Regions from separate parts of the Homo sapiens genome. Here all the other regions are linked to region 3. The links are contacts of gene promoters, found by promoter capture Hi-C in blood cells and fetal thymus (Javierre and others, 2016). All regions are on one chromosome and are shown on one strand. The core of a region is centred on a gene start or on the middle of the fragment in contact, and the rest is flanking DNA. Distances in the headings are between cores, read along the strand shown.

Region 1 (3,637 bases), core at 745-3,244, 390 kb before region 3:
GTGCACGAGTGGGGTTCCCAGCCCCTCTTTGTTCCTTCCAGAGCATCCAATCACAGGGCCCCGGTAACTGTTCACAGACTGGGAGGCAGCACTTCTCAGAGGCGACACCAAGCATCCCTGACATCTCCGAGCCTGGCGTGGTTTACAAAGCACCTTCTCGTGATTCACCAGTGACTCTCATGGCAGATGTTTCTACAAGCAAGAAAACTGGGGTGCACTGAGGATTGGCGGGCTACCCCTGGTTATAAAGCCAGGCGCAGGGTGTGGGCCCCTCACTGCAGGGCAATGGCCACTGCACACCGGGGCGGGGCCAGTATGTGACATGTGCTGCCACCCCCTCCTTCAACAGCGTCAACCTCACTAAGCAGCCCAGAACTCCGGGTGAGACAGGTCCCTGAACTGTGGCTGCCCCAGGGTCGTTTCTAAGTGCCCTCCCTGATCCCAGCCCAGCGGGCACACATCTCACCTTAGGATCTCTGCAGATACAGACACAACGGAGCTCTTTTTCCCTATAGTGTTCCTCCTGCTCGGAACCGTCCTTTCCAAACAATCATGTGGGAATACACAGGACTGCCAAGGACTTCACAAACATTTCCCCAAAACATAAACAGTGTTCAGCACTTGGGAGTTTTCAGCTTGGTGGTTTTTCTCCCACCAATAACAAGATGTGGCGCCTCACCAGGCAGTCCCTCCTGAACAGTCTTCAGAGAACCCCTTCACAAAGACCCGAGCTGTCCTTCTGGCCTGGGCGCTGCCAGCTCTCCCTCCCCGCTCTGTGATCGAGGCCAACCCCCTTGACCTCAGGTGGCTCAACAGCTCAGTCCTATTAAAGTGACCTCGTGCCGCTTCCAGGGCCCATATCAAGGTGTGTCAACAGGCAGCTTCTGGGAAGCAAAATGCCTGAACCCACCAGGAATCAATAGGCAGCTTCAATAAAGACACCGCACTACAGTAGTCCTCACAAGGACCCTTGTAATTCTTAATCTTCCAAAATCTTAGAGGAAAGGAAAGAGTGAGAGCTGGAGGGAGAGGTGAGAAAGAGAAATCGATCCGTGGCTATTGCTGCAACCTCTACATCCCCACGGCTTTCTCCTCATTCCGTCTCTTCTCCACAGAGGCGTTCTCCTAATTTCCCTTTGAGATGGTTTAAATCAATAATGAATCCCTCAGTGCTAGGAACAGCCTGCGTTTTAATCCTTGTGCAAATCTGTTCTAGAGAAAACATCGCATGACATTCCCAGTGCCAGGCTCTCTTCTGATTGAGAACACATCCAGGGCTTTCAATCAGTGCTTCTAGGGGCTGGGGGAAGTTGAGCTGTTTGGAGAGGGGCTTCCGGTGCTGCCTGAATAGCAAGAGAGATTCTCAAGTCAAAGTTCCGCTGCGGTTCGAAGGCATGAATCCGGCTCAGCTCCCTTCTGTGTGTGCTGGCTTTTGCCCTAGGGCGGGCATCCTGCTCCCTCTGATGTGGAAGTAGGTGAATGAGGTGCATCCAGGCTTAGGCATCCACAAATACCGGGTCCTTCCTATTTACAGAGCTTTGCAAAACTGGGGAGCCATCCTGCTAATAACTCACAGCCCAGTCCCTCCTGGGAACGAGCCTCAGCTGAAGAGACCACCAGCAGCAACCAAGGTTAAGCCTCCACAGGTGGTCCTGTCCAATGATGGGTGGATGGGAGAAGCCTCACCCAGAGATAGCTCTGAGGGGCTGCCCCAGCTCAGTCATTTACATGAAGCCTGGCCCTACTCCCTCAACTAGACAGAGGCTCCATGAGAGCAAACGGGATGGATTTTCCTCTCCTATGTACAGCTTGCATCTAGCACATCAAGGGTGTTCAATAAATACAGCCAGGCGTCACTTAACAGCAGGGATATATATGTTCTGAGAAATGCATCAGTAGGTGATGTCATTATGTGAATGTCATAGAGTGTTCACAGAAACCCAGATGGCACAGCCCCCTACACACCTAGGTGGCGAGGTACAGCCTACTGCTCCTATGCTGTCAGCCTGTACCGCAGGAATCCTGTGAGCAGTTGTAACATAAGAGTTAGAATTTATGTATTGAAGCATAGAAAAGGCACAATGAAAACACGGGATTATAACTTTACGGGGCCACCATCATATATGGGGTCCACTGTTGACCAAAACTTGGTTATGTGGTTTGCAACTCTGGGGAGTGAGTAAATGAGTGATCAGTTTATTGTTATTATTAGTAATAACTGATACCTAATAATAATAATAGTTACATATTTTCCATTTGTCAAGCACTGTTTAAACACGTTACTACAAATATTAAGTCATTTAACTCTCACTACCCTGGAGGTAGGACTATCTTCCCCCATTTTACCGATGAGAAAATAAGGCACAGAGAGGTTAAGTTTCTTGTCCCAGTTTACAGAGCAGTAAGTGACAGGGCTGGGGTTCCAATGCCTGTGTTCCTGCCACCATGACCCCGGTACACCTCCCAGACACTCAGCGGGTGAAAGCTGTGCACCACCCTGAGGCCCCCTCACACACTCTGCAGACAGAGTGAAACTGATGAAACCAGGATTCCTGCCCAAATGTTCAGCCCTGCTATTCCTCTGTGTCCCCATGAGTGACTGCCTATAACAGAATCCATTTCATTAAAAGCCTGCTTCCTTTCCTAGTTTATCGTCATAACTGAATCATTTGACCAGTCCAACGGGTTGTTTAAAAAATCAGTTTATATAAGCAGATGAAGAAAAGAACTAGCCAGGTTCCAAGACTCCAGGGGTTTGGGTCAAAATCGAGTTTGAATTCTTCGCCAAGCTGAGTTCTCCTTCCCTTTGGACTCATCATCACAGAATGGGAAAATGAACCATTCCTGTGGTGGGTTGTTTCTGGGCATTGCATTAAGACTACACACAGAATCAAACCCCAAACATAGACACGGTAAAATCCTTAACAGATGGTACATGACCCCACTCCAAATGTCCCTTGAATAAAGGAGGAATGCAACTAGGTTGGAGGTGCCAGCACCTTCCACGCATTTTTCACATTTAACGGGGGCTATAACTGCCTCTGAATTAAGAGACAAACACTATCAACTGTCTCACAAATGAAGAGGCAGGAGGCTAATGTGAGATGCATTTGAAAAGAATAGTCTTTACCACTTACGAATGGGATTAAATAAAGAAAAATTCTGCTTGCAATTGGTGGCTTCTTTTTAATTAACTGGGCCAATTTAGCATAGGAATGCATCAAGCTAGTTTTAAATTGTCATGATCTCTTACAGAGAGGAAACTGGAACATGAATTCTTGGCTGGCTTCTTTGGCCATATGAACCATCCCATCCACTTGTTTCCATTATTCCTCTGTTCTCCTCCAGAAAAAAAAAAAAAAAATGGACTTGCCACTTGACTCCTTCTCTGGAAATTTAAAAGTGATTTGACTTTGCTTAAAATTCCAACATTTTCAAACCCTCTACTTTGGATCAATTAGGCTGAATGTGAACCTAAAACTAAAAATAAAAGTGGTATTTCCCCTCTCCAAGCCAATTTATAGAAGGAAAAGAACAACTTGGACCAATCCAACTTGCAGCCAGCAACCCCCAAAATCTCCTGCTTCCAGAAGTGCAAGGTCACAGAACAGGGCTAATGGCCCAGGATCCCGTTAGA
Region 2 (3,397 bases), core at 179-2,678, 370 kb before region 3:
CATTCTTTCATTCATTCATTCATTTGTTCAACAAATACCTTTTGAAGAACAGCTGAGTGTTGCGCATGTCCAGGTAGGGGGAGACCAAAAGCCAATACAAGATGAGGGATGTGATGTGGAAATAAGAGATGAGTATTTGGTCTCTATCCTCGGGTACTGGTACACAGGTGCTAAAATCCTTGGAATTTTTCTGAATGATGGGGTGAGAGAAGCACCTTTCGTCATTCATGACAAGCCCCTTTCAGCCATACCTGAGTGTATCCTGATGCGGTGACACTTTGCGGGCCAGGATAGCTCCAGGATGGAGGCTGGTCACCAGAAAGACCAAGCCTCAGTGAGCAGCTTTCAACAAACCCCCCAAACTCCGGGTAGGGAATAAGGGCTGCAGATTAAGTCAATCACCAGTGGCTGATGATTTAACCAATCAGGCCTTTGTAATGGAACCGCCATCAAAACCCTTAAACCACAGGGCTCAGGCAGCTTCCAGGTTGGTGGATCCTTCGAGGTGCTGGGAGGGTGGAGTGGAGGAAGAGGGCATGGAAGCTCCACACACCCTCCTCCACCATACCTCGCCCCATGCGTCTCATCTGCTGGCTGTTTCTGCATTCTATGCTATAATAGACTGATGATGAGTCAAGCACTCTCCTGAGTTCTGTGAGTCATTCTAGTGAATTACTGAACCTGAGGAGGTTGTGGGACACTCTTGCCTTTTTAGCCAATTTGGACAGATGTGCGGGTAACCTGGGGACCCAATACTTGGGACTGGCATCTGAAGTGGGGCAGTCTGGTGAGACCGAGCCCTCAAACCGGTAGAGTCTGAGGCTGCCTCTGGTAGGGGCAGACTTGAATTGAATGGTAAGATAATCAGTTAGGTTCTGGAGTTGGAGGATTTGCTGGTGTTGGAAAATACCCCTGGGCTGCGGTGGGCGTGGGGGTGGGGGCCTCTCTGAGAAAAAAACATAAAACTGTCTTACATTTACAAGTTTTTACCAAAATCGATAGCCACTGTATAGTATGTCAAATACTCAGTAAGATGGACAAGCAATCTGAAGACCAGGTGAGTCCCTTGTAAGTGAAGGCCCTAGAGCCCGGCGGCTTCCAGACAAGACCTCCCCTGACGGGCGCGAGTGGTGCAGGGCTGACCCAGAGAGGAGGCCTGTTCCCAAGTGGAGCTTCTGTCCCACCAGGGGTAGGGGCTGCAGGGCACAAGCTATAAAGAAGTCCCAAATGAATAAGATAATCACAGATGCTGCTAGATAAAGGCTATGCAGAAAAGAATAAAGAAAAGGGGGAGAGAGCAATACAACCATTGGAACAGGGTTTTGGAATTCTTTGTGCCGTCCTAGGGCTGGCCCATGCTTTGTTGTCAGGGCTGTCCCGCGCACAGTAGGATGCTTAGCAGCACCCTGGCCCCCACCCACTGGATGCCATAGCACCCCTTCCCCTGACATGTCACAACCAAAAATGTCTCCAGGCATTGTCAGTGCCCCCTGGGGTGCATAATCACCCCTGGGTTGGAGCTACTGCCTTAAAGAAGTGGGAGGTATGATACACAGGGTGACAGGGAAGACCTGATTTCAGAGGGGACGTTGGAGGAGAAACCTGAACAAGAAGGAAGCCAGTCACGTGGAGACCAGGGGAAGCAAAGGCCCCGTAGAGAGACGCTGTGGGGAGTCCCAGCCCATGAGGGCTACTGGCAGGGTAGGCCCTGGGGCACAGGCTGGTGGGGGTGGAAACCTGATGGGAGAGGAGGCAGGGACCAGGCTCTGTAGAGTCTTGAAGGCCAAAGTCAGGGGTGGGATTTGCTCGAGTGCAAGAAGGAAGGCATACTACATATTCTTTTTTTTGTTTTGAGATGGAATCTCACTCTGTGGCCCAGGCTGGAGTGTAGCAGCACGATCTTGGCTCACTGCAACCTCCGCCTCCTGGGTTCAAGCGATTCTCCTGTCTCAGCCTCCCGAGTACTGAGATTACAGGCATGCATCACTGCGCCCGGCTAATTTTTGCATTTTTAATAGAGACGGAGTTTCACCATGTTGGCCAGGCTAGTCTCGAACTCTTGGCCTCAAGTGATCCAGCCCGCCTTGGCCTCCCAAAGTGCTGGGATTACAGGCATGAGGCACCACGCCTGGCCTCAAAAGAATTTTTACTATGTATAGTAAATATACATAGTAAAATATGTATAGAATAGTTTACTATGTATAACTATTAAAGAACATAACTCAGGGAAGAAAAATCCAATTAATGGGGTGGTATTGAAAGGAAAATGGATTGCTGTTACGTTCTGTATCTGGCCTTTTCCGTAGGCCACAAATTATCCCAAGAACAGTCATTCAGAAACCTAACACTCAAGTGGTTCTTCCTTCAGAAAGGAGTCATGTATGCCCCCTGCACTTCACCTGTCTGGAATGTCCACATTTGGTGCCGGTCGACTCAGACAAGACGGGGCCCTTGGCACTTCCGTTCATGTATTAAACCAAAGGATTCAGGTATACATTTCAGTGAGATTGCTTCCCACCTGGGCTCAATTCTGAGCCTGATGGCTGCAGACCATCACTGTGGGAACCTGGCACCAGGAGAGAAATCAGATAACGGGTCCCAAAATAGAAAGTGTTCAATTACCCAGCCCTTGCTTGGACACCCCCTATTAACCTATGCACCCAAGCATCATTAGCAAGCCATTTATAACAAAATTGTAATTGAGAGACCCAGAAATACCACTTTAGATTAAGTAATTGAATGCCCCCTCAGTGTAAGATCGATAAAGGGCATCCAATTTCACCCTAGGAAAAACTTATTAAATTATTGTAGCTATAAGCTGATATAGCAGAAGAAAGATGTATGAAACTTCAGAAGAAATCTGGATGGATTTAAACAAATAGCTTCATTTAGGTAGAACATTTACATTTGCCCTCTGGGGACAGAGAGGGAAAAAAATAGCTAATTACATTATTTTTCTTTTATGTTTTAAGGAAAAAAAATTCAATGGGTCTTAATTAACCTTTACTAAAACACAAAGCCTTCTTCTGATTAGTATGTGTAACTGCTGACATTCCTCTCTAGGCTATATATATGGAAATATATTTTTTCAAGGACTATTCATCAACAAGTAGGAGAAGGAACATTTTTCACATGTAGCTCTAAGATAGAAGGTTGTTGCTGAGACTGAGAAGAAAGCCAACAAGACTGAAGAGTTCTGTACAAATTATAAATCATCAGATTCAGTCTTCTATCTGGACTTCGACAGTTTTGATCACATCCCAGTCAATAAGCAGAATAAAGCCACACCACTCCGTCAACATTCACTGGCCCATAGCACAGCGGAGAGGACACAGCAGTCACATGGATTAGGATTCCAAGTCCATGTCCACCCAGCGGCCTTGGACAAATCACTTAA
Region 3 (3,588 bases), core at 1,054-3,553:
TTACTCCCTCCATCTAGCCCATCCATCTACATTAGAACATACCTACAGTAGAATTTCCACAAAAGGCTGCATTTTGAAGTTAATTTAGCCTATACTCTTAAAAACTATTTTCTTACTCTAAAAGAATAGTCGGCGTAAAGTTGTCCAAAAGCCACTTAAAATATTCAACTTGAGGAGTAAATTTGTTCTTGCTATTTTGACAAATATTTACTTTTCCTGAGGTAACCATTCACAAATACAGGCCTTTAAAAAAAAAAAAAAAAAAAAGTTCTACCAACAGAAGTCTCTTTGACGTAATCAGTATTCTGGCTAAAATTCAAGCCAAGTGCATCATTGGCAAACAACTAGTTTTACTACTGAGAAAGGACCGGGGTCAACTACAGCACATCCTCCACACACATCCAAATTCGTGCATTCATCACTATTTGTAAATGTTTGAGATTTGAAAGGTCCTCAAGAACTCACTAAAGGGCATAAAATATGCACACAAATAACTGTAATAAAGGCACGCTATGGGGATAATACATATTAAGACAGCTGCTTTGAGGGAAAAATGTCTTTTAAAAATGTTTACTATTTAAAGTTATACTGGATTTTTCTTTGGGGGGGGGATGCAAAACTAATCTTAAACACCATGAAAAACTGTAAACCCAAAACTATAAGCTTTTTTTTTTTTTTTTTTTTTTTTCGAGACGGAGTCTGTCGCCCAGGCTGGAGTGCAGTGGCACGATCTCAACTCACTGCAAGCTCTGCCTCCCGGGTTCAAGCAATTCTCCTGCCTCAGCCTCCCGAGTAGCTGGGATTACAGGCGCGCACCACGATGTCTGGCTAATTTTTGTATTTTTAGTAGAGAAAGGGTTTCACCATGTTGGCCAGGCTAGTCTCAAACTCCTGGCCTCAGGTGATCCGCCTGCCTGGGCCTCCCATAATACTGGGATTACACAGGTGTGAGCCACCGTGCCGGGCTAAAAATAAGCTTTTTAATTTAACGCTCGTTTTTATGAAAAGATTCATCTAAAGACAGAACCAGGATATTCTAATGAAAGGAGTCTATTGTTATTTCACATGGCTAAGAGCGATTGATTACAATCTAAAGAACAGTTCCGGGGTTAACTGAAAGAACTAGCTTATCCACAGAAACCCTTTCAATCCCAGAAGGAGAAATTTAGAATTTGGAAACTGAACATTAGTCATTTCTTAAGGTAAAGCCACTTCATTCCAAAGTCACTGTCTGTTCGCCCTTAATTTATCACCGTAATTTATCTAAGAGGTAAAACTGAACACCGAAAAGGTAAGATGTAGAGTGACAAAAGGAGACGGTGGGTCACAGGGCGAGTGCCCAGGTGACTTCGGGCCTCAGTCCTCTCGCCAGCAAAGGGCGGACAATGACCCCTCCCGTCCCGCCCGGGAAGGCGATCGAGGAAACGCACTGGCCAGGCCCATTTACTGATGCTCAGCAGGGTTTGCAAAAAGCCCCCAACGGGAGGTTTTCATGCTGAAAGTCCTGTTGCCCCCCCATCCCCCACCATCTAATTAACCTGCACGTTACTGTAAGGAAGGTTCTGCTTCCGTAATTTTCTTTATTTCGACAGAGGCTGGAGAAAAAAAATCATAGGCTGGAAGAGGGGAGCGATGGGCAGGCCGATCTGCAGGGCGCAGGAGCAGGCCGGGAGGACCCAGCCCTCCAAGGCTGCATCAGCGCCCCCGCCGCGTGACCAGGGCCACCGGTTTACTGCACAGCTCCCCCGTCCCCAGAACGCAGCCTCCCCGCCAACCCCAGGAACCAAGGGTGCCCAAAGGCCTCCTACCCGGAACCCCGGGGCGCCTCGGGGTCTCTGGGCCGGGTGGGCCGAGTCCTGGCCTCCACAGGCCGCGAGCGCAGGGGGCGGCGGCTCCGCCCGGTCTGGCAGGCGGGGCTGCCACATCCTCAGCCTCTCCCTGCCGCCCGCCCGTCGGCCGCTCTGGGCTGGAACCAGGACTCCGGCCTGCAAGCCGTGGGTCGCCACGCCCCTGCCCCCTGAAGCTGCGCGCCGGCCGGAGACTCCAGGGCGCCCGGGTCCGAGCCGCCCGCAGAGTAAACGGGCCGCTGAAGCGGGGCTCGTTCCCCGGCCGAGGCCCAGCGCGCCCCCTCAGCCAGCATCCCCCGAACCCGGGCCGCGGCCACCCCGCGCCCGCCCGCCTCCCCCGCCGCTGTCAGGGAACCCCGGCCAGGGCCCGAACCAGAGCCCCAGGACAGCGGCGCCCAGACGGTACCTGACAGCGCCTGAGGACAACCGGGTACACGCGGCGTCTATGAAGCGCAACAGTGACGCCGGAGAGTCACTGCAACTTAAAGGCTGATTCTGCCCCGCCCCCAAGACACCCTCGCCGCTCATTGGCTGGGGCGGAGGGCAGGATACCAATCGCGTGGGTCCCGTCCTCCGCCCCGCCCTCCGGCCGCGCATCAAGGATCTTTGCTCCTCCCGCGGATTCGATCCGCGCTCGCGCCTCCTGAGCCCGCCGGCCTGTACCTGAGCTCAGGCCCCTCGGTCGCCTCCTCTGGCGGGACGAGAAGAGTCCTTGTCCGCCCTTGCTGACGAGAAGACTGAGGCCCGAAAAGGAAAAGTCTGTTGGGCCCCCCACTGCGCGGGCCGGGTGTGGCTGGAGGCCGAGAGACGTGAGGCTGGACCGCCCGCCCTGTGCTCCTGGAGGGAGGGACCAGCCCCAGCTCTGCCCCAGCCACAGCTGCGGGAGCCCCATGCCCTTGAACCCTGATGCGCCGCGCGGCTTAGTTGTGCCTCTGAATCCACCTCCAAAAGTCGTCGCTGCCTATGGAAAACACACTGCCCACCTGTTCGCAGCTGCTGTCAGATAATTGAGTGGCAGCAACCCACTCACAGTACAGATTTGCCTGTGGTGCCCTCCACAGCCGGTTATTAAATTCAGAACACAAAATAGATATTCCGGGACAACCTCATGTTAGAATCGGAAGGGACTTGGACTTCACTTAGCCCACAACAAGATGTTAAATATTGGAAAACAGAGACCCAGAGAAGGAAAGCGACTTACCCAGTCATCCAACAGTAGGGGCAGTCTGGTCCTGTGTGCCCCTCGCCACCCCTCTCAGAGGGCAGGCGCTGGCAGCTGCCGGCACCACACTCCATTAGACCACAATGACCAGTCGGGGGCCCAGCTGGAAACAGAGGGCACACTCCAATGTGAACATTTCCTAAAACGTGGTGGTGGGGGCCCGTGGTTCATGCCTGTAATCCCAGCACTTTGGCAGACCGAGGCAGGAGGATTGCTTGATCCCAGGAGTTCCAGACCAGCCTGGGCGACACAGTGAGACCCCGTCTCCACAAAAAAAAATAAAAATTAATCTGGTGTGGTGGCACACCTATGTTCCCAGCTACTCCAAAGGCTGAGGTGGGAGGATCACTTGAGCCCAGGAGGTTGAGGCTGCAGTGACCTATGACTGCACCACTGCACTCCAGCCTGGGCAACAAAGCAAGACCATCTATCTTAATCAACCAATCAATCAATCAATGTAGGCAAGTAAACCACAAGGGATGGAGAAATAACCTGGGTCTCATGCACCAGCGAGGGCCA
Region 4 (3,427 bases), core at 670-3,169, 350 kb before region 3:
AAGCAAGGACAGGGCACCTGGGAAGTTCAGGAATCGTTGGCAGTGCTCCTCATCATGGTAACCATCACTGTCACTGTTATTCCTGTTTCCACCTGCTCTTTGGCTTTTTAGCTGATGGGCCGGGTACATGTCCAGTCTGGTCTGTGTCACACACTTCCACATTTTATTCCAGCGTCTCCTAGAGGGCTGGCTTGCTGAAATGCATCCGAAATGAATTACTTTGCTGTCTGTTGCAATAACTAGTCCTTCATATTCAAATCCAGAAAAAGATCAAAACACATATATTTTAATGTCTTCTAAGTCCGTTGTGAAAAGCATCACTATGCTCTTATTAAAAATTCTGCTTTCATCACCTGCCTTAATATCCCTGTTCTTGAATTAAAAAAAGAAGTCAGAAAGACAGAGGAAAATAGTGATTTTTAAAGTAAGACCTTATCTTGTGAATAACTGTAAAATGTTCTATTTTAATAAGAAACACAAATTTTCAAACAATAAAAAGGGGATCATTTTTACTTTAGAATGTTCCACCTTATGGTATTTTGGGCCCTAAGTATACAAAGAAAGCATACAAGGAGATAATCGAAGCTAGAAAGTATCAGAACATGCTTTAGCATGTCTCTGTCTGGGCTAAGCTGGGGTCAGATGTGAATCAGACAGGACTAGGCAGGATGAGAATGGCCTCTCAGGTGAAAAGGACAGTCCCTTGTCTCTGCACAGACATCCATCGGCTTAGCATCCCTCCCCAGAGGCCTCTCCCAAGGAGGCAGGTCTGTGCTGCTAGGCAAAGTTGCAAACTCCCACAGATCAACATCCCGTTTGAGTTCCTACATCCTGTAGTCCTCCTGAATATAGAGAGGATGGGTTCAACTGACTTCTGCAGGCTCAGCTCTAGTACAAATCAGTGCCATACAGATAATAAATATAGCCAGGAAATTCAAGAGTCTTGCAAAGTTCAAGTTAGTCCCTGTTGTTTGGGGGACCCCCCCCCCAACTATTGGTGATATGGCACAGATGGAAATGGGGCAGAGGCACCATGAACAGAGTAACATTGCAAGAATCATCGGGGCCAGGCTCGGGGAATTTGGGACGGGGAGTCCAGGGTCTCTGGCAAGTCTCTGAGTCATCAAGATGAGTGAGCCTCAAAGGCAACACAGGGGAGAACCATGAACAAGCAGTGACACGTGCAGGGCCCGTGGCCTGGGGAAGGCTGAACAGGGATGGACAGTTTACGGTTTCACAGTTTTAAAAATTTGAGTCACTGACTTTAAACAGGTGAGGCAGAGCAGGGGACCCAGAAAACAGGAACAGTGCTCCTCCATGAGCCCCTGCCATAGGACACCTGGGCAGAGGCCAGCCTGAGCCTGGACCTTCCCAGTCAGCCAGCTCATCCCTCGAGGAAGGACGCAGATTTTTCTCTCATTGCCTGCCTTTAACAGTTCTGCGCTCCAGGCCTGACCAAACCAGATTTATCCATTAGGTTCCATGACATGTGGAATATACTGAGGGCAAAGAAGTCACCCCAAGATGGGAGTTCCCCTGAATCTAAGGTGTCACTGTGCCTCCCTTTAGCTGTAGGACTTTGGACAAGTGGTCCCGCCCATTTCCTGGGGACATGCAGAAAATGGTGATGTCCCCCCCAGCACGTTGTCAGGAACAAATGATATAGCCTGGCTGTGTGAGTGCTTTGTAGAGAGCACACAAAGGACAGGATTTTTCTTTGCAATGGAAAGTAGTTGCTGTGTTGTCCAAGAAACAGTTTCTGGAAAAAAAAGAAAAATCTGCACTTACAGATCTAGAGTAAAAACACAATGTAGGTCTGAGGTTCCTAGCCAATCCCAAGCCAGAGGCCCCTCTGGGAATCTCTCCCAAGGGAAATGCATATGCCCACCTACGGGGATGTCACTTCAGGAAGGTCAACATGAAGGCCATATTTGACCATCAGATTTAAGGGGCATCCTCCAAATGAACCCATTCAGTAAAGTTTTTTTGTTTTGTTTTGTTTTTGTTTTGACACTGAGTCTCGCTCTGTCACCAGGCTGGAGTGCAGTGGCTCGATCTCGGCTCACTGCAACCTCTGCCTCCCAGGTTCAAGAGATTCTTCTGCCTCAGCCTCCTGAGTGGCTGGGACTAAAGGTGCACACCACCATGCTCAGCTGATTTTTTTTTTAAATAGAAACGGGGTTTCACCACGTTGGCCAGGATGGTCTTGATCTCTTGACCTCGTGATCTGTCTGGCCGGGGCCTCCTAAAGTGCTGGGATTCAGGAGTGAGCCATTGTGCCCGGCCCTCAATAAAGATTATTAAAGCCCTACTCTATGTCAGGCTCAAGTGTAGAGCCCTGGGATGCAGCAGTAAACAAAACAAGTCCCTGTTCAGCTGCATCTCGCAGGCTGGTGGGGAGGCTTCCAGAATCCAATGAAGAAGAGGGCAGATGACCTCAGACGGGCTGAGCACCATGGATGAGAACCCGCCGACCCACTACCAGGCTCACCTGCGAGTCCCTGCCTGCCACAGACTCCGTAGGCTGCCCTTCACGGCACTGTCTATGGGGTCTCTTCCAGAAACAGCGGGGCAAAGGCAGGAGGCAGAAATAAAACCTAATTTGCTTTCTGGGCCACATTCCTGTAGCTTAGTATTTGGCGGTGCTCTCTACCCCACTGGGGTAAAGAATTCAATTTGATTTGATTTGATCTGATTCTAACTTAAAGGCAGAGTTCTCACCCTGACCAGCAGCAGGCCATGTCCCACTTGTGTGAGATGCAGTGCAGCCCAGGGTGAGACGTGCTCAGCTCTCTCTTCCTAGCCCAGAGCGTTAGAGAAGATTCTCGTTTTCTAAAGGCACTACCTGGAGGGAACGGGCAGTTTCCCTCTTTGGGCAAAGTACCCAAGGAGATGGACAGGCCAGCCAGAGCCCAACAGACCCATCACAGGTGGCCTTGTGGCCATCTATAGGGCCAGGTGTGCCATCAGCCTGAAACCCTGCTCCCACGTGAGCCAAACAAGGGGCCACAGCTGGGGCTTCTCTCCTCTCCTCCAACTCCCTAGCACTCTGAGTCAAATTCCAGCAAGAAAGTGCCTCAGAGCAGCACTGCCCAACAAAAACAGAGTGTGAGCCCATACCTAGGTTAAATGTTCCAGGTGAGGTTAATTTTCATGTAGTTCAACTCGAATAGACGCAAAATAACCACTTCAACATGTAGTCAGTATAAAAGTTATTAATTAAAAATTTGCATTTTTTTCATACTAAGTCTTCAAATTCCAGTGTGTATTTTACACTTAGGTCCATCTCAATTTGGATGCTACATTTTCATCTGAAGTACCTGAGCTGTATCTAGATTTCATAAGACTTAGAGTCGGAAAAGGAGTTATGGACCCAAGCTGTTCCAAACATTCTTAAAAGTTTTCTAATAACTGAATTAAGTATCTG
Region 5 (3,479 bases), core at 90-2,589, 410 kb before region 3:
AAACTGGGGTCTCCAATGGCCTCGGATAGAGGAGCTCTGTGAGGGGTCCATTGCTGAGCTCTCGAACATCACGAAGGAAATTCCAAAATGGTTATAATTCATGTGTGCCTAGAGTGGCAGAGTCCTGGGGTTTTCCATACCATGAGTGAAACAGTTCCCCGCAAAGAGATTTGTAAAATCCTGATGATGACGGCATTGGCGGGCCCAGCACGTGCAGCAACAATTCAGCTCTCACGTCGTCTTCCACGCAAACGCCTCATCCGCGAGGACCTGCGCCAGCCTAGCGTTGAAGGGCCTGTAGAAATCCCGCAGAATCTTCTGTGTGATGGGCCACATGGGCCCCAGGTTCCGGTCCTCGGGACGCCGTGCATTGGATGCGGGGCTCTTGGTCATCAAAGCCTCCTGCTTCTCACTTAAGGGCCCTAGAATAAAAGAAGACGAGTCCCGTAAGGCAGGAGGCATGGCAGGAAGTAAAAGGGACTTTGCAAAAATCCCAGCTATGCTTCGTATTCAGACAGGAGTTTCCTTTAAGAGAACATATTTAGGGATTAAAATTCTTTGGCTGGATCCATTTTGGAAGCACTGAGGGAGGAAGGTGGAAACACCATCAGGAAATTGCGAAGAAATTCTGCGGCGGGTGCAGGATGCCCACCCTCGGGGGAGCCCAGCTGGCATTTAATGATGATACAGCGTCTAAGGCTGACCTCAAGGATTCCCTTCCAATTGCCCTTGGTGGGCTGCTCTCCATGGGTGTCAGCCCGTCCTTGGAGGAACGTGCGGCCTGCCGAGCACAGCCCACGGGTTTCGGTTTTCCTGCTCAGCAGCCCTCTGGAATTCCGCCATCATCGTTTCTACTTCAGGCTGCTCATGCCAAGGTCCCTGGGCCTGCACAGTTTCACCCTGTGCGTCTTGCTGTGAAGTGGCCATAGGGAGGAGGGCTGGGAGGAGGCCACTTGTGCCCAGAGCCCCCACTGGCTGAACCTCCATCTGCAGCAAGGAGATCAGGGAGAAGAGGCCTGCCGGCAAGGGCTGTCAGTCACCCCCACGCCCCGCCCTCTGGAGTGAGGCGAGGCCCTGGAACAGGCTGGCAGAGGTTGTCAGTCACCGCCACGCCCCGCCCTCTGGAGTGAGGAGAGGCCCTGGAAAAGGCCGGGAGGGGCTGTCAGTCACGCACACGCCCCGCCCTCTGGAGTGAGAGGCCCTGAAACAGAACAGCAAGGGCTGCGACCCCAACGCCCCGCCCTCTGGGCCACAGCTTCTTGGTGTAACCCATCACTGCTCAAGCCTCTTTACCGGGGGCTCTTGGGATCTGGCCAAAGTCCTTAGCCCATAGACAGAAAAAGCATGTCCCAGCATCCTAGGGCCATATGAAACACAGAATTGGCCTTACTATCCATCTTGGGGACAAAAGACAAGCTCATTAATGGGACAGAGTCAACATGTGGTCAAATCAAAGAAAGATGATTCTAAGCCTTGGAAGGGAAAGAACTCATCAAACTCCAAAAAAAGGAGAAACAAAATCAAATGATCAAAGAGGCCCAAGTCCCAGTGGCAGGCAGATATATTTTCAGAAATACTCAATTAACCAAGTTCCCGGGCAAGACCATTAGTCAGGGCTGCAGGAGGCGTTCTGGGAAGGAGGGCGGCTTGTTCGAGCCTGCTCAGCCTTTCAAGCCATCCCTCGGTGCCCCGTCCACATGGGCAGCACTCGCTCCGCCAGCACATGCCTCTGCCAGCCATCACCATAGTCAGCAGTGTGGCCTGTCACCACAAAGTGACTCTCAGGCCCCTGGGGGGGCTGGTATCCACAGGCTGAGGGCAGGCGCTCATGCCCCAGGGGCCCAGCATCCATGATCAGCAGCCAAAACTCAGCCACACGGCTCTGACTCCTGGAATTTCCAAGAATACCGGAGATGATGCAATGATCTGTCTGTTCCCTCCTCTAAGCCCCAAGTCCTCTGCTCCAGCCCCCCGGTGACATCCTGTTGGTCCTACAAAGCTCAGCTCTCAGGCCCTTTCCTTCCATGAAGCCTTCCTCATCCGTGCAGTAGCTGGGATCCCAAACCATCAGCACATACCTTACATGACAGTGCTGACCTTCCCCACGGCATCCTACCTGTCATTCAGTTAGGTGAGCTATGGCTTCCTCCTCTCCCTTCACTAGACCATAAGCTCCCAGAAGGGAAACCATCTCCTTCTCTCCAGAGAATCCCTCACCATACTGTGCACAATGACCTATGTACAGCTAGTGCTCAATAAATGGTACTTAACAGGCCTCCTGAAGGACATCCCCAGGCCTCCCAGCTCAGCCCATTCCCACCCAGCTGACCAGGTCTGCATTTGCCCCAGAGGACTCCCAGAACAAGTCCACGGAGCTCATGCTTTGGCCCGTCAGTCTAAGCACCACACTCATACCTAGGTTCAGAAACTGGAAGACCTTGTGCATGGTGTACTTGACGTTGGATGCATGATCTTCCAGGCGAAGAATGAGAAACTGTTGCTTGTCAAAAACGCTGAGCCAGTCCAGAAGGTACACAGCATAGAGCCCAACCTGGAGCCTCACCTAGGACCACAGAAGAAGGGCATTATTTCAGGAGCAGTTGCCCCAACACCATAGGGCACTTTTCCAAAGTGGTATGGCATTTCACTGTACCACAAAAGAGTTATCCTAGCAAAGTTACTTTCAGAAGCTGGATTTTAACACAAGGTGTTCTTGCTTCTTTATGGGGGGTTTTGTGCTACATGTGCAAAGAATTCCTATATTAGGGGTTGCATTTCATCCTCACAACACCCTGTGGGTAGCGCCATGCCTCCATTTCACAGGTAAGGACTGAAGTGCAGGGAAGAGGTCAAGGTTGTGGCCACCAATGGTGTACATGTTCCTCGCACAATATCCTGGCTGTTTCTCTGTTCCCAGTGTGACCTCTATGCCCAGCACACAACGGGATGTGAAAAATCAACCACAGACACCCCAAAGACAACCTACATGAGTGAAGAGCCAAATGCCTGATGCCAGAGGAACATCCTTGACTGTGAGGGTGTGTGTAATTCAGCATCTAATCATTACTGAACCAAGTACACAGGAGGATGTTTCTATTTAAGTCCTTTCTACTTTCCAGTACCCATTTCCCGGGTCTTCACCCTTCTGTTCCTTCTCTCGTGCCTTACTGCAAGCCGTGTGGTGAAGATTTAACTCTACTCAGAGAGAACTCGGGCCTTTCCCTCGGCTCCTGGGGGTGATGTCTGGGCCCCTGGATGTCCTGCCTGACAGAAGTGTCTTGGTTGGCCTGAGGGCTTTGGTCATAGGCAGGCTAACACTGAGATTGATGATGGGGCCTTGGGCCACATGGTATCAGTTCTGACTCTGGTAGGACTGGAGACTAAAGGTCAGCCACAGCATCTGCATGTGACGGAACCCTAGTAAAAGGCCTGGACCCCCAAGGCTTGGCCTGGCAATACTCCACGAGGATTGCCACATA
Region 6 (3,464 bases), core at 228-2,727, 460 kb before region 3:
GGCAGCTACCTTTGTGTAAGGGAAATTTATATCTATAAAAGGTGAAATCTCCATCTGTAAGAGTGTCTCCCTCTCTGTACCAGGACTCAAATCACTAAAGACTCTTATCAATGGAGAAGGCGCTGACTCAGATCTGCAAATACAAACATTACTCTTTGTTTACTGTGCTTTTTCTTCCCATAACCAGCCTTCCCCATGCCCTTGTTTCTTAGTTTCCATAGACAATAGTTTTTAAGCCTGAATTCCAAGCCACCTCTTTGAGATTCATTCATTTTTCTGAGTACCTCCCATCTATGCATGAGGGTATACTTGTTATTAAACTTCTGTTTTTCTCTTGTTAATCTGTCTTTTGTTACAGGGGTCTGTCCCAACTAAAAACTATGAAAAGTAGAGAGAAATTATTTTCCTCCCCTACACAGGCATGAGCTCCAAGTTGGCATGTCAACTTGGCTTTTGGACTCTAACCCTAGGAAAAGGGCAAGACCAGAGAAAGCTCAGACGGAGTGTGACACAGAAGTGTCAGAGGGGGCCAGCTCTTGTTGTCTAGGAGACTTTCTGATCTCACTCATGTCTGGAACAAAGGAGAGAAGAGTCTTCCCCATCCCAAGCCTAGCTCAAAGAAATAAACATTCACAAAAATTTCGTAGCTTCCAATCTTATAGCATCATCCAAATCCCTCCCAATTTGTACCCACCTCCCATCAACATAATAACCCACCTCTTCCAGGGAACAGAGCCAAGGAGGTTTACCTTTTAAGGGCTTTGTCTTCTGTTACGATCTGCCATGGTCTACAGCATAACCAGTTAAATCTTGATCTCTTTCTGTCCAGCTTCTTCTGTCTTCCTGACGCCTAGTGTCCATATGTCAAAATATATTGATATATATTTTAGAAATGGAGACAATCAGCCATTAAAACAGTAGTTCCCAGCCTTTAGGGTTTCAGAAACCAATACTTTTAATTTTAATTCACAGGCCATGATTCCATTAAAGAAAGCCAGCTGAACACAAAAATATAGGAACAGCATCATCTCTGTGTAAAGGATACTCCAAATTAAATAAGCTTGGCTTTATAAAAAAAAAAAACTCACTATATTTTCTTTACTTTTCACATTTAGTCTTAGACCAGGGAAACTTGATTCTTTTCTCATTTTTTCCACAAAGACCAATATTTGGAAATTACTTCTTTAAAGCTCATAACGGGAAAAATTTTAAAGCCGTTATGTTAACACGGAAGTACGCCAGTGTCCAGATTCCTGGGATGGGCAGGGAGTACAGAGAGAAGAAGACGTCTGCCCTCCAGCAGGGCTTACTCCAATTCTATTCTTTTTCCATGGCTCAGGCTGGACCTTGACATTGACAGGCGCAGCTCCTAAATCTTCCTTTGTTTTCAAATTCATTTCTCCCAGGTCGTCTGGACTGTAAGCTCCTCTACAGTGACAAGTATTTTGCTTCATTTTTGTTTCTTCTTCTCATCTCCAAAGCCAGGACTAGGGTGAGCTTATCTCTCACCGTTCCCCCAACAAAAGCCCTCTCTCCAGGTGCTGCCTCTGCTGCCCTCACCTGTGCTGTGCCCATCCAGCCTCCCCGTACTTGCTCATGCCCTCTCCCCCAGAAATGCCCTCTGCCTTCCCAGATGCTGTGGAGCCCAGCCCAGGGCCCCTCTCCAGGAAGCCCACCGGAACCTCCCTGTCTTCTGAGTGCCTGTGACCCTCTTAGCAACACTGGGTTCTCAGCAACCTCCAACCTCCAGGCGTTCTCAAATCTATCACAGGTGTGTCCACTGGACTGGAGCTCCACCTGCATCACACACTGTCATGGATGTGTCAGGAGTTGGCATCTTACCATCCTCTGCCCCAGGAGCAGTATGGGGGCTTTTTGCTAAAAGCCAGTACACTGAAGCTTCAGCCTAGATTGTAGCCCAGCGTTCTGCTCACAGTTGGGGGAACCAGACGGGGGCTGCCCGGCTGTCCTGCCTTACCCTGCGGGGAGAGCGCTTGGTTATTTCCATCCAAGCCCCTCCCTGGTGCGTTTGTTCTGCAAACTCTCTGGTCACACTCCAAGCCACTGCCTTTGCTGCACTGTCTGTAAACATGACAGTCTCGGGGCTATATTAAGATTTTATGAGTCTGTAAAACAGATTAAGAGATTCAGTGTGAAATTCTCCTTTTTAAAAGCTCTTCTTTCCCTTCAGATCCCATCAGCTGCACCAGCCCTGGCCCCATTGGCTTCCCATCCTGCCTGGGGACTGCTCTGAGATTTCAAAGTTAAAGTAAATGCTGCTTTTTCAAAACATATGGGCACCAGCTTCCCTCCCTTCTCATCCAGTGTTACTATTCGACTAGGTGATGGATCCCATTTTTCTTGACACTTAGGCATTGAAGGGGCTTTCTAAATGGTGTCTTTCCCTTCTCTAAACAAGCATGGCTCAAAATATAAGCTACTCAAGTGAGAATGTGAGAGGATGAACAATTGGCCTGGTTTTCCTGGGACTTTCAGCACTAGAAGTCCCATGTCCAGAAACCCCACGGCGCTGGGCAAAGTGGGAGAGTTGTTTGCCCTAGCATGAAGGCTTCTTGCAGAATCACCAAATGTTAGAACCAGGGGAATTGTCTGAACACTGGGAGAGAAGACTTTCAAATGATTTAGAGCCTCAGACCACTGTTTCAAATGAAAACTTATCTGAGAAGCAATAAGCAAACAGACGCGACAGGAAATCCTCTGGTGGACAGAGGTGGGGAGCCTGCAGGGAGAGTAAGGCTCTGACCTGGAACACTGGGCTTCTCTGATGTCATCCAACAATCACCCAACCCCCAAGAAGACAGGGGGCTCCCACTCACCTCAAATCAAAGCCCTGGGAGGAGCTTTGCAGTGACTTTGGTTAATGATATCAGATTAAAAACTGCAGCCCCAAGGGGAAGTATGACTTTAGGGGCCAAACTAGACCTCCTCTTCCTTAATTTCCAAAAGAGACAGCTAGACATGCCCTCTGGCAGCACCTCCTTCCTCCCCACATACATTTGCTTTCTAATTTTGGAAAATAATCTCATGAACCCCAAACCCAATCTTAGAGACACTGCCACATAAAACCCCCACACGCATGCATGCATGCACCCACAGTCGCCTCCCTGGGGGCCTTGCACACCCTGACTGAGAGGGCAGCCAGCCCTGCTTCTGGCAGGGAAGATGGAGAGAGGGACAAGGAGAGGAAAAGGAAAAGGGAGAATCAGGCAGACAGAAGTAGGGCAGAAGCTGGGTTCAGAGCCTTGGCCATGCTATCACCAGCTTACAGCCGAGAAACAGACAGGCAGAGTGAGGGTACGAGGCTGGGGTCAGAGGTTTTGAAGCCAGACTCATCCCTGGCCTCCTGACTCAAGGCTCTTTCTGCCACCCAGACAGAATCATACCTAGCTGGGCCATGGCTATTTAAGGGAGGCCATTCACCCACTAATCACAGATTCTGACCT
Region 7 (3,212 bases), core at 29-2,528, 410 kb after region 3:
GCTGAAGCAGGGGAATCGCTTGAACCCAGGAGGTGGAGGTTGCTGTGAGCCGAGATCATGCCACTGCACTCTAGCCTGAGTGACAAAGCAAGACTCTGTCTCAAAAAAAAAAAAAAAAAAAAAATTATACCCTGAGAGAAAGGCTTGGGTTTTCTTTTTATTTAAGGGATATCAGAATTAATTGCTTTAATCTATGGGAAGATATGTTTTATGTTCAGTAGTACTCCTTAAGTCAGGAACTATTGCTTATTTCTTTGTTCTCTGTAGTTCTTTGCATATGATATGAACTCAATGGAGAAAACATTATTCACTTAGAGTGGTGTAGTAATTAGTGAAAATATTTGTGACAATGCTAGCCTCAGCAAAAGTTGGCTTACTTTCTACATGAAAATGTCAAAACAATCTCAATTTACTATTAATTTTAATTTTAATATGACACTATTAGATTTAAACTACCTTTGCTTCTTAAAACAAGATTTTAACTCAGAGTTGGTTTCAAAGAAGGAAGCTGTATGAAGATTGATCTTCTAATAAAGAATTAAATGTTTTGAAAACAGATGTTTTTAAATTTCAGTATGCAAAAGAAAAATTCAGAAACTTACTTAAATTCAGATTCCTGGCTCTATCTTGAGAGGTTCTGATTCTGCAGATTTGGGTGGGGTCCAGGAATCTGCACTTTAGGGATGGGGTCCAGGAATCTGCACTTTAGCAGTCTTTCAGATATCTCTGAAGTCATCTGTCTTCCTGATGACCAACAAATCACATTATGAGAAGTATTCTTCCAGAGTGCATAACAGTTTCATTAGCCAGTTTAGTTATGCTATAGTTAGAGCTGAAAAAGCTAAACTTTTAAAATAGATTTGTTGAGGTAAAATTGACATATAACACATATCTCAAATGTATGCTCTTAGAAGTTTGATGTATGTGTAAACTTGTGAAACCATCACCATATTAAGATAACGAGCATCTCCTTCACCTACAAAAGCTTCCTCGTGCCTTTCCAGTCCTGCCTTCTCCCCTCATTCCTGTTAACCACTGATCTTCTTTATGTCACTAGATTAGTTTTCATTTTCTAGAATTTTGTACAAATAGAATCCTATAACCTATACTTCTTTTAGTGAGGAGGTGTCTAGCTTCTTTCACTCAGGATAGTTATTTTAGGACTCATTCATGTTCCTTTTTATCACTAAGTAGGATTCCAGCATATGCCTGAAGCACAGTCTGTTTATCCATGCTCCTGCTCATGGACGCTTGGGTTGTTCCAGGGTGGGGCTTTTGCACATAAAGCTACTATGAACATTTGTGCATGTGTGTTTGTATGGATACATTCAGAATTAAATTTGTAAGATTTCATGCAACTTTTCACACTTTTCTTTCAGAAAGTCATTGGGTGGTACAGATTCCGGCGCAATACGCAGCAGCAGATGTCCTACAGAGAGCAGGTTCTTCACAAGCAGCTCACCCGCATCCTCGGCGTGCCCGACCTCGTCTTTCTTCTCTTCAGCTTCATCTCCACTGCCAACAATTCCACTCACGCTTTAGAATATGTGCTCTTCAGACCAAATAGAAGGTAAAGCTTGCTTTTCCATCTGCCTCACATATAAGAAGGACGTTGGGACCAGGCGTGGTGGCTTACGCCTGTAATCCCAGCACTTTGGAAGGCTGAGGCGGATGGATCATGAGGTCAAGAGATTGAGACCATCCTGGCCAACATGGTGAAATTCAAAAATTAGCTGGGTGTGGTGGCACGTGGCTGTATTCCCAGCTACTCGGGAGGCTGAGGCAGAAGAATCGCTTGAACCTGGAGGCAGAGGTTGCAGTGAGCCAAGATTGTGCCACTGCACTCCTGCCTGGCAACAGAGCAAGAATCCATCTCAAAAAAAAAAAAAAAGGATGTTGGTACAAGTCACTGAGATTCGTGACTTCAAAAATGTGCATTATAGTGCATTTTTTTTTTTTTTTGAGACAGAGTCCAGCTCTGTCACTCAGGTTGGAGTGCAGTGGTGCAATCTCGGCTCACTGCAACCTCTGCTTCCCAGGTTCAAGCGATTCTCTTGCCTCAGCCTCTCGAGTAGCTGGGATTACAGGCACACACCACCATGCTGGCTAATTTTTTTGTATTTTTAGTAGAGACGGGGTTTTGCCCATTTTGGCCAGGCTGGTTTTGAACTCCTGACCTCAGGTGATCCACCTGCCTCGGCCTCCCAAAACTTTATGCATCTTTAAATAAAAACTTGTATTATTCCCTTTAGCTCTTTTTGTGGTTACGGAAGGTATTTTTCTTGTCAGTTATTTACATAAAATTGTTTTTGGATCAAGAAGCATTAACAAGACATGTTTATTATGCATAAATTCTTATAAGGAATAAATAGCTGGAAATCATCATTTGCTTCTCCATAATCCACTATGTGGAAATGTAGTTTTATTGCTGTGGAAGTCTGATTATAATTTTGAAACATAAATTTCAAATACAAAATTGTGAAATTGAACCACCTGCTGGTTAACGAGGGTTTTGCATCGTGAACTTGTTAAACCAAAAAAAAAAAAAAACCACCCCTATGATTATATGATCATGTTGTCTGTTTGTAAACAGCAAAATGGTTTCCCTCTGGAAGTTTATTTGTTGTAGAATAAATTAAATTGACATCAGTGAAAATAATTGTTAATTGTTAAAAAGGTTTTTATAAGATTTCATTATGTAATCTGTGGGTATCTCTTGAGCACTTACAGGCTCAGCATTGTGTCAGTCACTGTGAGTATACAAAAGATGTGTAAGGCATGACCTGTGCTCTCAAGGAGTTGATAAGCAAGGTTTTACTTTACAGAAGGGAAAACATCACTAATTCATGTATCCTTGGGTTGTCTGTAGAAGGAGGTGCTCCGTGAGACCTTCCTGTTGGTTTACCAACGTCAGCAACTAAGACTCCTACCACCAAGCCCCATTCTTGCTTTAGTTAATTACTTTTATTTATTTTAATTTTATTATTACTATTATTTTGGAGACAGGGTCTTACCCTGTGACCAGGCTGGAGTACAGTGGCACTATCATATTTCACTGCCACCTTGAACTCCTGATCCTGTCACCTCAGCCTCTTAAGTAGCTGGGACTATAGGCACATGCCACCACGCATGCCCTTTTTAAAAAATTATTTATTTATTTATTTATTTAGAGATACAGTCTTGCTGTTGCCCAGGCTGGAGTGCAGTGGCAC

The links. The method cuts DNA at HindIII sites, captures the fragments that hold promoters and counts their contacts. A CHiCAGO score of 5 or more calls a contact.
Region 1: a contact is called between a fragment that was not itself captured here and the fragment with the promoter of OAT in region 3, in 3 of 17 cell types (monocytes, total B cells and naive B cells). The highest score is 11.8, in monocytes.
Region 2: a contact is called between a fragment that was not itself captured here and the fragment with the promoter of OAT in region 3, in 1 of 17 cell types (monocytes). The highest score is 5.4, in monocytes.
Region 4: a contact is called between a fragment that was not itself captured here and the fragment with the promoter of OAT in region 3, in 1 of 17 cell types (monocytes). The highest score is 5.4, in monocytes.
Region 5: a fragment that was not itself captured here is called in contact with the fragment with the promoter of OAT in region 3 in 7 of 17 cell types (monocytes, neutrophils, M1 macrophages and 4 more); the score reaches 13.5 in monocytes.
Region 6: a fragment that was not itself captured here is called in contact with the fragment with the promoter of OAT in region 3 in 1 of 17 cell types (monocytes); the score reaches 8.3 in monocytes.
Region 7: a contact is called between a fragment that was not itself captured here and the fragment with the promoter of OAT in region 3, in 1 of 17 cell types (activated CD4 T cells). The highest score is 5.2, in activated CD4 T cells.

Annotation. Positions count from the first base shown.
Region 1 is chr10:124,029,464-124,033,100 of GRCh38, forward strand. The region is part of intron 5 of CHST15 (carbohydrate sulfotransferase 15); the gene reads right to left. Among named protein-coding and RNA genes, the nearest start is that of CHST15, 62 kb to the right of the region's middle. The HindIII fragment of the contact is 5,558 bases long and covers 1-3,637 here.
Region 2 is chr10:124,049,110-124,052,506 of GRCh38, forward strand. All of the region lies in intron 1 of CHST15 (carbohydrate sulfotransferase 15), which reads right to left. Among named protein-coding and RNA genes, the nearest start is that of CHST15, 43 kb to the right of the region's middle. RefSeq lists enhancers at 1-352, 1,394-1,894. The HindIII fragment of the contact is 7,591 bases long and covers 1-3,397 here.
Region 3 is chr10:124,416,620-124,420,207 of GRCh38, forward strand. It overlaps OAT (ornithine aminotransferase), which reads right to left and starts at 2,304. Exons shown (of 10, transcript NM_000274.4): 1 at 2,254-2,304. RefSeq lists silencers at 1,864-2,403, 2,346-3,005 and an enhancer at 2,979-3,493. The HindIII fragment of the contact is 6,386 bases long and covers 975-3,588 here.
Region 4 is chr10:124,068,389-124,071,815 of GRCh38, forward strand. All of the region lies in intron 1 of CHST15 (carbohydrate sulfotransferase 15), which reads right to left. Among named protein-coding and RNA genes, the nearest start is that of CHST15, 23 kb to the right of the region's middle. The HindIII fragment of the contact is 5,512 bases long and covers 1-3,427 here.
Region 5 is chr10:124,009,918-124,013,396 of GRCh38, forward strand. It overlaps CHST15 (carbohydrate sulfotransferase 15), which reads right to left. Exons shown (of 8, transcript NM_001270764.2): 7 at 2,416-2,563; 8 at 1-422. The coding sequence ends at 232. Among named protein-coding and RNA genes, the nearest start is that of CHST15, 82 kb to the right of the region's middle. The HindIII fragment of the contact is 4,917 bases long and covers 1-3,479 here.
Region 6 is chr10:123,961,217-123,964,680 of GRCh38, forward strand. LOC107984128 (a long non-coding RNA gene) reads right to left here. Exons shown (of 3, transcript XR_001747628.2): 2 at 750-850. Among named protein-coding and RNA genes, the nearest start is that of CPXM2, 71 kb to the left of the region's middle. RefSeq lists an enhancer at 2,672-2,841. The HindIII fragment of the contact is 839 bases long and covers 1,059-1,897 here.
Region 7 is chr10:124,825,216-124,828,427 of GRCh38, forward strand. It overlaps ABRAXAS2 (abraxas 2, BRISC complex subunit), which reads left to right. Exons shown (of 9, transcript NM_032182.4): 5 at 1,380-1,570. Among named protein-coding and RNA genes, the nearest start is that of ABRAXAS2, 25 kb to the left of the region's middle. The HindIII fragment of the contact is 591 bases long and covers 984-1,574 here.